Linked DNA regions of Homo sapiens: all the other regions are linked to region 1. The links are contacts of gene promoters, found by promoter capture Hi-C in human tissues and cell types (Jung and others, 2019). All regions are on one chromosome and are shown on one strand. The core of a region is centred on a gene start or on the middle of the fragment in contact, and the rest is flanking DNA. Distances in the headings are between cores, read along the strand shown. Region 1 holds the start of DOCK8 (dedicator of cytokinesis 8). Region 2 overlaps LOC105375951 (a long non-coding RNA gene). Region 3 has its middle 330 kb from the start of SMARCA2. Region 4 overlaps LOC102723803 (a long non-coding RNA gene).

The links. The method cuts DNA at HindIII sites, captures the fragments that hold promoters and counts their contacts. A contact is called where the count stands out against the background at its distance.
Region 2: a contact is called between a fragment that was not itself captured here and the fragment with the promoter of DOCK8 in region 1, in 1 of the 25 tissues and cell types used here (dorsolateral prefrontal cortex).
Region 3: a fragment that was not itself captured here is called in contact with the fragment with the promoter of DOCK8 in region 1 in 1 of the 25 tissues and cell types used here (dorsolateral prefrontal cortex).
Region 4: a fragment that was not itself captured here is called in contact with the fragment with the promoter of DOCK8 in region 1 in 1 of the 25 tissues and cell types used here (dorsolateral prefrontal cortex).

What each region holds. Positions count from the first base shown.
Region 1 is chr9:212,990-216,114 of GRCh38, reverse strand. DOCK8 (dedicator of cytokinesis 8) reads right to left here and starts at 1,250. Exons shown (of 48, transcript NM_203447.4): 1 at 1,086-1,250. The coding sequence starts at 1,138. It overlaps DOCK8-AS1 (DOCK8 antisense RNA 1), which reads left to right and starts at 365. Exons shown (of 1, transcript NR_160804.1): 1 at 365-2,658. RefSeq lists silencers at 776-915, 1,086-1,135, 1,186-1,235, 1,246-1,495. The HindIII fragment of the contact is 11,669 bases long and covers 1-3,125 here.
Region 2 is chr9:1,702,688-1,705,812 of GRCh38, reverse strand. All of the region lies in intron 1 of LOC105375951 (a long non-coding RNA gene), which reads right to left. Among named protein-coding and RNA genes, the nearest start is that of SMARCA2, 310 kb to the left of the region's middle. The HindIII fragment of the contact is 5,902 bases long and covers 1-3,125 here.
Region 3 is chr9:1,679,976-1,683,100 of GRCh38, reverse strand. No RefSeq gene overlaps it. Among named protein-coding and RNA genes, the nearest start is that of SMARCA2, 330 kb to the left of the region's middle. The HindIII fragment of the contact is 3,787 bases long and covers 1-3,125 here.
Region 4 is chr9:1,309,747-1,312,871 of GRCh38, reverse strand. It overlaps LOC102723803 (a long non-coding RNA gene), which reads right to left. Exons shown (of 7, transcript XR_929415.3): 3 at 1,840-1,932. Among named protein-coding and RNA genes, the nearest start is that of DMRT2, 260 kb to the right of the region's middle. The HindIII fragment of the contact is 5,282 bases long and covers 1-3,125 here.

The DNA.
Region 1 (3,125 bases), core at 1-2,500:
GGAAATAAAATCGTCAATAAAGCTCGATATGCCCTCTAGAAGACCTTATCGCCTTGTTTTTCTAGGCTTTTAATTCCTTGTTCAAACCTCTTCACACACTAACAGCACAAAGATGAACCTACGGTGGAATCCACCTTTCACAGGCTCAGCTAAGTGAAGATTAACAAATCGGACAGCCCTGTGGGCAATAGAATAAGTTGACACTTTAGAATGAGTTTCCTATTATCTTTTAACTAGACAGTCTAGCTTTCTCAGGGCAAGACAAAAATGTCCCAATTACTTGTCAGCAGTTTTTAGTGGAGGAAAAACTGCAGTTAAAGCACCTTTACTGAGAACTTTGAGCAGTAAATGTGCTTACATATTTAGTTTGTGCAACTTTGATTAGGAATTGGATGGTGAGTTGGGATCCCCCAGTCCTTAGCTTTTTGCTGGAGTTCTGTAAATCTCAAAATGTCAGCCACAGGCCATTTCTTTTGGTTTATTTAAGTGTAGATTTTTTAAAAAATCACTTTTTCCACTTCATGGCTCCTTTGGACCAGGGTATAAAAATAGCGATGCCACCAGGAGCCAAGCTCTTTCTGGAATAATGAAGCAGGCGAGGACGGAGCCTTGCTCAGGACGACAGAAGGCTTGCAGCCTGCCTCAAACGCAACTCTAATTTCAGCCACTTCACTTCTTCCCCCCGCGCTCAGACTTGCCTCAAAGGAAGGAGCCGTTTATGAGACACTCCGTGGCGCGCCCAACACGGTTACCCAGGCGCCTATCACCCTTCTGGGACCCGGCCACCTGTAAGAACCTGGAGGGCGGAGCGGGCGAGGTTGTTCGGGGAAGGGATCCCCGGCGGCTGAGGACATCCAGGAGCACCGAGATTCTTGGGGAGGACCTCGCCGGGCCCAGCGCAGGAGCCGCCGCGCGTCCAGCGGCTCCACCGCCGCAGCCTCGGGAACCGGGCGCCCCAGGTCTCAGGCGCGCCCCGCCGCGGACGCGAATGGACTCGTCCGGCCTCGGCCCCTGCAGCGAAGCTCCGCTTCACACCAGCGCTGGGCTGTCCGGCCGCAACCTGCGCGCCGCGGGGGGCGTCTTACCTGTTGATCTTGAGCGCGAACGCGCGGCGCTCTGCGCTCGGCAGAGTGGCCATGGCCCGCCGGCGGTTCGGTGGCTTCTAGGGTCGCGGGGTGCGGAAAGCGGGGGCCTGGCGCGCCGCAGAGTAGCCGCGGAACATGCCCAGCCAAGCGCAAACCTCGTCTGTCGGTCGGCGCTGGAAACTTCCGCATTTCCACCTTCTAAGCCGAAATCACCCCGGGGGAGGGTCCGAGCTCGGAGCAGCGACGGCCGGCTCCGCCACCCGGCCTGGCGCGCAGGCAGCGGCGGGCGAGGAGGGCGTGGGCCCAGCGCGGAACTGGCCTCCCGATACTGGGGCAGACGGCGCGCTCTGCCCGGGGCCGCCGACCTCCGGCCGAAGGGAGCGCGGGCGGACGACAGGCGACCACTGCGCGCAGGCCGGAAGCTCCATCTGCCCGAAGCTGCGAGGCTGCCAGGGAATGTAGGCAAGTCGGGGGAGCCCCACAAAGCTGGCGAGGTCGGGAATCACCCCAGGGATTCGTAAGGCTAGGTGTTATTAAGGGTTGACACCATTCTCGAAGAAGGCAGCCAAAAAAAAAGACAAAAAAGTTAGTGGAATCTATCAGGATTCAAATCAACTTTTGCAAGCAATATGCCCATCATCCTTCCTGAGACACTAAATAAATATAATGGATTCATCCAAGGAATAAACATTATGAGTTCTCAAAAAATGTTTTCGTCACAACCTGGCGTGAATGCTTTTCTCCGGAGAAACACTGAAGGCGGCGTTCTTGCGATTCAAGGGTACGCTGCGTCCAGGTTTATTTCAGTTTCAGACTGAGGTCTGCTAAGAAGCCCGGCCTCAAACTCAAGATAAAAACAGAAAAGTCCCAGTGTTGACGGGAGTGGAGGAGCCCGTGTTCGCTTCAAGGTGCCGGCGTGCTGCTCTAACCTGTGCTATATATACTCGAGCACTCTCCATATAATGCCTCCATTTACCAACTTGCTCTTAAAAAATACCAAAGCAGGCCGGGCGCGGTGGCTCACGCCTGTGATCCCAGCACTTTGGGAGGCCGAGGCGGGCGCATCACGAGGTCAGGAGATCGAGACCATCCTGGCCAACGTGGTGAAACCCCGTCTCTACTAAAATACAAAAAATTAGCCGGGCGTGGTGGCGCACGCCTTAGTCCCAGCTACTTGGGAGGCTGAGGCAGGGGAATCACTTGAACCCGGGAGGCGGAGCTTGCAGTGAACCGAGATCTGCCACTGCACTCCAGCCTGGCGACAGAGCAAGTCTCCGTCTAAAAGAAAAAAAAAAAAACAACCAAAGCGAAGTATTTTTGGTTCAAACCTGCACTATTTAATATGATAGCCACTAGCCACATGTGGCTATTGACCACTCGGCATTATGGTTAGTCTGAATTGCCCACTGCTGGATGTGTAAAATGTACACTGGAATTTAAAGACAGCGCAGAAAACATCGTGTAAAATGTCTTGTTAATGATTTTCATGTTGATTGCATGTTAAATGATACTTTGGATATAAAAAATATATTATTAAAGTTAATTTCACCTGTTTGTTTTCCCCTTTTAAAAATGTGGTTTGCATTTTTAAAAATGTAAAATTACACATGTGGCTCACATTTGTGAGCCTCATTATATTCCTATTGGACAGTGCCAGTCCAATACAACCTAATTTGTCACCTAATACTAAAATCCACCTAAGGACTATATTCAGTCTCTTCCTGATACAGCCTTCCTTCCTGGTTTCAGCTGTGTCAGGTAGTTTAGTAACTTTTCAGTACTGGTTAGGTAACTCCCCGCCCCCCAATGCCCACCAAATATCAGTGCCCTTTTAAGCATATAAGACAAAGTTCACTGCATAGACTACAATAGACTACATACGAAAACAAACCCAAAGAAAAATAAAGCTTTTTTGAAATTTAGAGTTTCTGACTTTCAAAACTGTCCTTATTTACTACATTGGAATTTATGAGCAAACATTTGGATAGCAAAATACAAAGAGAACAAATGTGTAAGTACTTCTTCAAACTGAGACTCAAC
Region 2 (3,125 bases), core at 319-2,818, 1.5 Mb before region 1:
CTAACATAAAACTGTCCCTTTTCAGATGGCAAAATGTAACTGGAGAGGTGGTCTCACAGATAATGAGTGATAGAGTGAAGACTTTTAGTTCTTTCCACAAACTGGAGATTCAGAGTTACATAATGGTGTGCTAGAAGGGTGGAACTAGAGGAAAGAAATATAAGCTGATTTCCGTCCCTTTGTGTTGCTCCACTTGGCTCATCCCTTTCTACTCTCTACTATTCCTTCATCGGGGGCTCATGTAAGCCTCTTAGGACCCCATCTGTTTTCACATTTTGGTTTAGGTCAGTGTGAAGTCGTCCAGATGCTGTGACTCCTGGTTTACCTTTCTGTGTAGACTAAATTTATGCTGTCCAAATCAGCTATTGAAATTGAAATTAATTAAAATTAAATACATTTTAAAATTCACTTCCTTGGTCATATCAATCACATTTGAAGTGCTCAGTATCTACATGTAGTTAGTGACTAATGGCTACAATATTGAATAGAGCAGATATACAACATTTTCATCCTCACAGGATGTTCTGTTGGACAGTGTAAGAATGACAAATGATTAATTTATGGACCATTTTACAGTTGTATATGTAAATCTCATTTAGTTCCCTTTAAAATGTATTTTTTTTTTTTTTTTTTTTTTTGAGAAGGTGTCTCTGTCGCCCAGACTGGAGTGCGGTGGCGCGATCTCCGCTCACTGCAAGCTCCGCCTCCCGGGTTCACGCCATTCTCCTGCCTCAGCCTCCCGAGTAGCTGGGACTACAGACGCCCGCCACCACGCCCGGCTAATTTTTTGTATTTTTAGTAGAGATGGGGTTTCACCGTGTTAGCCAGGATGGTCTCGATCTCCTGACCTTGTGATCCTACCACCTCGGCCTCCCAAAGTGCTGGGATTACAGGCGTGGCCCACCGCGCCCGGCCTTACAATAAAACTTTTATATGAAACAACTGATAATGCTGTTTTACAGATAGGAACTGAAACCCAGAGAGGCAAAAGTGAGACAGAACTCAAACAAACATCTTTTAATTCCAAATTCCCACTCCATCATCCTCCCTTCTAATATAATCTCCCCAACTCTGATGCTGCTTAGGGAGGCCACTGATCCTCACCGCCATTTGAGCATTTAGAGGAACCTCAGGAAAGGTTGCCACATTTGATCAAGCAACAAACAGCGACTATCTTCTGTCTGCCTGGCAGTGTAGTACAGGGACCATGAGGGAGAGAGTGCCACCCAAGGTCCTTGTACCCCAGGAGCTTGCAATTTCATTGAGAGCACAAGTTTTGGGAATAAAAAATAGATAAGCAGAACTGTTTAAATCCAGACTTAAACATGATATACTATTAAATATTTAAAAATAGATAAAATAAGCAAAAGTATATGCTTTTGATAGGTGTCAAGACATGGAGAGATGGGCTGAAAATTATTATTTTTCAGTAATTAATAGTTGCCTTTTTAAACTAAGTATGTGCATTACTTTGATTAGAAGAGAAATTATATAAAAGAAGAAAATCATTGGGGCTTTTATGACTTTATGACATTAAACATTAATCTTTCCCTCTAGAGATCAAATAATTCCAGTTCTAAAACTAACCTTTCCAAATTAGTCATTTTCCAATTTTTATTCTATAATGTGATTGATTTTCCCTTGTGTATTTCCCAAGAAAGTCTCTGCCCAGTGAAAATGCTTCCCTCCAGGACCCTCAGCTATGTATGACCTGATATATTGCATCTCTTTTATTAACATTTAAATCTTCACCACAACTTTTCTTGATATTTACCATTAATGTCTAATTGAAATGCATAAACTCAGGACTATACATAGCACGAAGTAGGCACTTGAACATTATTTGTTAAATGAACATGTAAGTATGTACTCAAACTACAATGCACTTAGGCAATTTGGAGGTATTTTGGTGAATAACTAAGATAATTAACATAACCCAGAAAAGAAAAGGTTTTTTTAAAAAAAGCTGATGGAAATGTGTAAGAGACCTTGTCTTGCAATATGGTTGAGAAAAACAAGTTTTGTAAATAAAAAATAGATAATCAAAACCAGTTTTAATGCATACTTGAGAATGATACAAGGGAGCCTATGGATTATTTGCCCTCTCGCATGTTTATTTCTCCCTTCTGTGCTTCTTTCTTTAGTCTAACTCTCTGATTTTACAAATAGTGAAGTAACCTTCCCCAGATACCTTTTCCCCTAAGGTAAGATTTTTCTCCTTATATCAGACTGTTTTCCATCACAGTGTGAGGCCATGTGTTACTTTCACTGGGAGAAGCATCAAATAGCTAATCCCTGATTTTAAGGGGCTTACAATGTAGTTGAAGTGACTGGACATGAAAACATTAAATAACAGTACTAGAAGTGCTAAATAGCATCTGCAAGTAGTAGAGTAGCTGCTGGCTCTTTCAAATTCACAATCTTTTGCTTAACAAACAATATCTAAGGTATGTGTCTGTGTGTGTGTGTGTGTGTCTGTGTGTATGTATGTCTCCTATCACGTCAACATCAAGAAGAGGCCTTCCCTTCTTTAACTCAGTCTCCAAATTTCAACTTTTATTATGTCATCAGTCAAAATCTCTACTTTCTTCACCTAAAGGTGAAGAAAGTCAAGATATGGTCAAATGGTCTTTTCCCACTAAGAGGAGAAGTGCAGTGGCCCCAGTCCTTGAATACACATGATGTAATCCTGTTCAAAGGTGAATCTGCCCTGTCTTTTAACAGGCTTGAGATTTTTTTTTCTCCAGGAACCTCTATCACAGATTTTCCCCATCTTCTCACAGGACTACGTGGAATATCAAACCAGGTTGGTCAAAATGCTTACTTCCAACAAAAAGGTACAGACAGCTTAAATTATGGAAGGCAAGAACTGGCATAACCACATTTCTAGGAGTTTCTTTGCTATGGTGATCCTGAGAAAAGAATTTTTCTTAATAATTGGCATTCTCAAATACCTTTGATTCCAAATTATTGTTCAGCCTCAGAAACTCCATTTGCCTGATGTCAAGTCTCTGTGATTTAAGCCTGTAAACTCCCTGGAATTCAGAGCTAAGGTGGTTGCTTTTCAATCTTTCGACCTGCCTGTATGTCCTGGCACGTATGTGTTAGTAATGATGAACCAACAG
Region 3 (3,125 bases), core at 405-2,904, 1.5 Mb before region 1:
AAATAGTAAGATGAGTTATGTAGAGAGAAGGAAAATGATCCCAGAAGGAAACACAGGGTATAAAAAGGCAAGAAGAGCAACAGAAACGGTAAAATGTGGGTAAATATAAATCCTGACTGTACAGAATAATGAGTATTATCTTGTGAAATTTAAAATAGTTATAACATTAAAATACATGACAATGATAACACAAAAGGCAGAAGGCTATAAATAGTAAATGTTAAATAACAAAAAGAAGTGGTAATAATTTGTTTTAGACTATAGTCGGTCAGTGGTAAATGTAATCTCTATTGTAACCTTCCCCCAAAATTGGAAAAGAATATATAACTACCCATCTTGAAGGGAGAAATTAAATGCTTAAAATATTTGATTATTCTAAAAGAAATCAACAAAAGACAATAACATAAAGCAGGAGGATCAAAAAGAAAAAAATCGTAAGATTGTAGAGAAAAATCTTAAATATGTCTGAAATTACCTTTAAATTAACTAATCTATGTAAAATATAAATGTTATCACCTGGATAAAATAATGAAACCCAGTTATATGATGCTTACTAGAAATGTCTTGATTGTAAATACACAGAAAAATTCAAAATAAAAGCATATATCATGCAAACTCTAGCAAGAGAAAAAGAAAGCCAATGTAACTGCACTAATATTTCACAATTATTCTCTAAGGCAAGAATAAATATAGAACTAAGGCAAGAATAACAATAGAGAGTAGCATGTCATAATAATATGGAAGTCAGTCTACCAGGTAGATATACGATTCTTAATCAGTATGCACCCAAAACATAGCTTCAAACATGAATAAGGCCTTCTGGATCATGATGAAAACACTGATTCCAAAAAGAAGCTTTATCTTCCAAAACCATCTCATTCCATGTTTCCCATTAAGAAAATAACAAATTCTGTTATGGCTTAAATAACCGTTCGTTGAATTTTTTGGCACTTGCTGCTGGAAATATTCCTGCTACTCACCTAGTCACCAAGCTTGAAAGCGAAAATCATTATATTTTTATCTTTTTCAATTCATCTACCACAGGAATTATTATTTCACCTTTTTCCCTCAACCACATCTATTTCTTTTTCCAACAGTTTCTCCCTATTTCGAATGCTCCCTATTCGAATGCTCCCTATTTCGAATCTGTATTGTGTGTACTACATGGCAATAACTAAACTTACTTCCCTGTTTTCTATATGGTCAGGCATGAGGTAACCCCAATTTAACTTTTGCCAGCATCATGGCCCACCATTCCCCCTTTAGTTTATTTGCTGTCTTGTAAACATACCATTCTATGTCTGGCTTATGTCCCTTTGTACCTGGGGTTTTTCTAGCCTGGAGTGATCTTTGTACATCCCATCCTTCTTAATTGGCAAACTTCCTGCCTGTTATCCAGATAAATGTTATATTATCTTTCAAATCATGACATGATCCGCTCACTCCAGCACCCAGAATTAACTACTCTGTCCTTAAAAGTTCCGTATTTCTGACAGCTATTGTGTTGTAGTCATTTTCATGTATGTTTACATTCCTCATGCCACTGCTGACCCTCCTGAATTAGACTCTGAATTCTACGGAAGCAGGACCATAGCTTATTTATTCCTGAATCCCCAAGCTCTAGAACAGTAAATGGCACATAATGGTAGGTGAATGTTTGCAGGTGAATAAAAGAATTCTGCAAAGTGACGCAGACCAGAATCTGCTGAAGTGGAAAGAGATCTTGCATACCACCTATGATCTGTCCATTTTATCAATAAAGAACCAGGAACCCAAGGAAGATAAATGATTTGGCTAAAGTTACACATTGGTATGGTGGTAGGATAAAGATGAGCCCTCAGGTCCTTGACTTCCAGTCCACGTGGCCACCCGCTATGCCAGATGCTACTAAGCCTCTTTCTGAGCTGCTTTAATATTATTACTACAACATAACTCAGCTTTATTTTCCACAATGCCATTTACCCCTGCAGCATGCCAAAATGCTTTACCAGTGAAAGAGTACAATTTCACAGTTAAAAAAGATGAGAGAGAAATTAAATACTGTAGGTGCAGACTGAAAAACATTAAACCAAATTCAATTTGAAGGGAGGGTTTTAGATTCATTACCCACAGACACACACATACCCCAAAGCTCTGTGCACCATGGCCACATGTATTGTTCTTAGACAGGATCATGTTATCTCTATCTTAAGGGAACGAAAATTGGGGACCATGTACAGCGTGGTCAAGTGCCAAGTCTGGGGCAGAAATGGCCCCTCTATCATACACCATGGGGCCCATCAAAATCATGATCTAATTTCCATGTCCCTCCTTCTTCTTAATGGCTGATAACTTAGGTTGAAAAATGGATTTCTCTTTCAGCTGCTTCCCATGCATATGCTGGTGAACAGAATTCATGCTGCAGCCCACCAGAGTACCCCAGGGCCCCCTGCTGTGGACAAATGGGTATCTAGACACACTCAGTTTCAGGTTGTGTGATTGCAGGCAACTAAATCCCCAGATGAGGGTTTTTTAAACAAGTTGGTGATTTTCAGATGAAGGATACCGGCCACAGAAGTTTAAAGTGTTCCTGTGCAACTTGGGCTGCCAGTGAAATACCAATTTCTCCTTTTTTTAGAACAATTATTTCTTTTATTTTTCCCCAGACAAACCCTCAGACATTCTTCTCCTCCCTTCTGAGGCTTCTCTTTGAAAGAGCTAGTGCAGTAGATCATGCCGGGTTACTCCGCAGATAGAACTGTTGAACACAGGTGCATTCTGGGGCTTCAGTGTCTGGCTTAGTCTCTGATTTGTTGCAGAAAAAATACTCACTGTAGTTTCCCAATTCCCAAATGTGGATACTTTGAAGATGGATATGATGTATTAATTTTGTGTTTTCACAGATTTATGCTCTGCAGACGTAACTACATTTTTCCAAGAAATGAAGCAAGAACTGACTTCAGAGTCTGTATGTCAGGAATGGCACGATAGAACTTGTGGGTCTTCCTGCTTCTTTGTGCCTCAAATGAAAATAAAGAGCCTGCTGTTTAACCTGGGGTTTGGAAGATCCCACTGCCAAACCTCACCTTGTAGCTGTGAAAACTGAAAAAGCCCACATGTAAAGCACATCTCACACTGTGCAGCAA
Region 4 (3,125 bases), core at 416-2,915, 1.1 Mb before region 1:
ATCACCATCTTTCATGTAAAAGCACCTTTTCCTGTATTTGAAAAATGTTAAGTTCTCCCCTTAGTCTTGTTTTCAGCATACTAAATAAAAGCAGCCTCTTTTGCTTTTTTATGCCTGATATTTATTATTCTCCCCTGAAAATATCCAAAGCTCATCATAATTGCACTTCAATTCCAGCATCCTAACTTGGGTGATGCCATAGAAAGTCCTAACCAATATCAAGTACCAGGGGAAGACTATGTAATGATTTGTTTCTCCTCTACATTTCTCATGCTCTTATTTTTCTCTGCCTTTTTAATCACAGCCCTCCATTGCTGAGCCATTCTTCACTTTGACCGCTGGACAATTTCTTGTTATGAATGGATGAATGTCCTCTGAGAATCAGTAGGACCTTCACACTTGTCCACACTTTTTCCACTCTTGTCACAATCACTTAGCATTTTAATCCTGCTGAATTTCAGGATGTTAGCTAGCAATATAGTGCAATCCCCTATCATTGGCAGATGGAATCAGGATGTCTTATATGTACTCTCCTAAATCACTAACAGACACGTTAAGTAATACCATGTCACAGGGCCAACTCTTTCAGAACTCCAGTCAATAAAGCAACATTTACCCACTCATGTGGGGCACCTACCATCTAAATCAGGGCACTGTCAATCTTAGCTGCACCCTACAAGTTTTTTTAAATGCCAGTGCCTGGCCTCTACTCCAAAAAAAAAAAAATCTGATATAATTGGTCTGGAGTGGGGCCACCCAAAGACTGGAATATTCAGCCAGGGTTGAGACTACTAATCAATATCTTTGGCACATTGTGCTATTGTTTAGTATGTTTTAGCAGAGTAGTTTTCAAACATCACTGTACATCCAACCTACCTGGGGATCTTTTTTAAATGCAGACTCTGATTCAGTGGGTCTTGGATGGGACCTGAGATTCTGCACTTCTAACAATCTTCCATTTGATGCTGATGCCACAAACCACATTCTCGTCTCATTTATAAAGCAGTAGAGCAGAGATCCTTACTCAAGTTGAGCATGCAGTTTACTGTTGAATAGCTTATTCTAAGCTACATGAAGTATGAACATACTAGATCAAGTATCTTTTAAGCCTAACTTTCACATCTTATTAGAAATAATTTCGGAAATTCCCTCAGCCTTTGCCTAGATATGCAAGTTTTCTCATAGTTCACTCTGTCCCTGTGTTCTTTGGTCCATGACATAGTTCTGGGTTTGTGAAATGAGTGAGCCTATGAAGCTGGGTTTCCAATCATTATCTTGGAATCCCCTCTAATGGCTACCATTATCTCTCTGTCCTGTCAGATAGAGTCTAGCCAAGAAGCCTCCCTCTCTGAGGTTTACTGGGTTCTGGATGGAAAAGGATTCCAACCAGCATCAGTGCCCTTGCACACACATACACTGACACAGACCTGAGTCTGTGTCACACACACATTTCACACACATATGCTTGCTTTGTCAAGCCCCTGGCCTCCCTACAATCTTAAGGTTTCAGAAAAATGAAAAGTAGCTGCTGTCCTCTTCACAAGAAGACAGGTATCCCAGTTATGAAAGAATACTATAGAAGACCCTCTGCCTGTGCCCTGCTTGTTTTGAATTCTATCATAGATGCTCCTTACATATACGCCTTATGTCCTCCTCCCTGGTGTTGGAGCTGTTCTCAACAATGCCTACCATCATGTGGCACCAGGGATGTATGACAGGACATTTGCAGCTAGTATACTCGAGGGTGTCTTGACATGTCTATCAACAATGTTATGAGATCCTCACTGGGGGAACCCAAACATCTTTGAGGAAGGCAGGAATACCCCCTAAGTCGCTTACCAGTTGGGTGATCTTGACATGTCATTTGACTGCTTAGAACTTCATTTTCTTTATCTGGAAAATGGTGCCAATAGTACCTGCCACCCAGGGTTCCTGTAAAAATTAAAGAAGATGCACATGAAGTACATGCACAATACCTAGTACTTAATACTGACTCAGTCAAGGTTAGCAACTTACATTAGAAGTCTCAGTGAGGGCTGGGCGCAGTGGCTCACGCCTGTAATCCCAGAATTTTGGGAGGCTGAGAGGGGCAGATCACTTGAGGTGAGGAGTTCAAGACCAGCCTGGCCAATATGGTGAAACCCCATCTCCACTAAAAATTAGCCAGAAGTGGTGGCACATGCCTGTGGGCCCAGCCACTTGGGAGGCTGAGGCAGGAGAATCACTTGAACCCGGAAGGTGGAGGTCACAGTGAGCCAAGATGGTGCCACTGCACTCAAGCCTGGGCAACAAAGTGAGAAGAAGAAGAAAGAAGAAGAAAAAAGAAAGAAGAAGAAGTGGCCTCAGTGAGCCATATCTGGAATATTTCAAGTCTTATTTTCATTTTCCACAAATTCCGCTAGAGGCCTAAGGGGTGAGAGTAGACATGAGTTCTACTCCTGGATTATATCTCATATTCATACAGCTCTGAAACACACAGTACACCCTGTCTTTGGATTTTCCCATACACATCCCACTACCCCACCCAGTAAAAAAGAATAAGAAAGATACATTTTCCTCAGAAAAAAAAATACATGCCTGTTGATCTTTCAATTCATGCTAACCCAAGTCAGGCCTTAAATGTGGGAATAATCATTCTGGCAGATGTCACTCTCCTTTAGGGTTTTCTTTTTCTTTCTAAGCCTGAAGCGTTGGCTGCTGCAGGAAGCCAAGGAGAGAATAAGGTAGGCTGTTCCTGAGGGGCAGAAAGAGACTGGACCTTCCTTCTTTCCCAGGGATCATGATGGGAGAAACCAGAGAGTGTGCAGTAGAAAAGCAGATTAGACACATGAAAGACAGAAGCCTGTGCTTCCACTCAACGTGGGAGGACTCTAGGTGAGTCTGCAGAGGGTAGTGAAATTCACAGCCAAGCCCTGGCCTGCTTTCATTTGATGCTGTTAGTTAATCAAGCACATCAGTTACCAGGCCAAAAAACTCCAAGCCCCTCTATCCCAACCCCTGAAAAAGATCCAGGTGCATCTGACTTGAACTGGGTAGCCTCAAGGCTCTCCAGACCATCTGCAGCCACATGTCTCTTACCTAGCACAGCATCACATTTGTTCTTTCTCAGGTTCATATACAGTGGG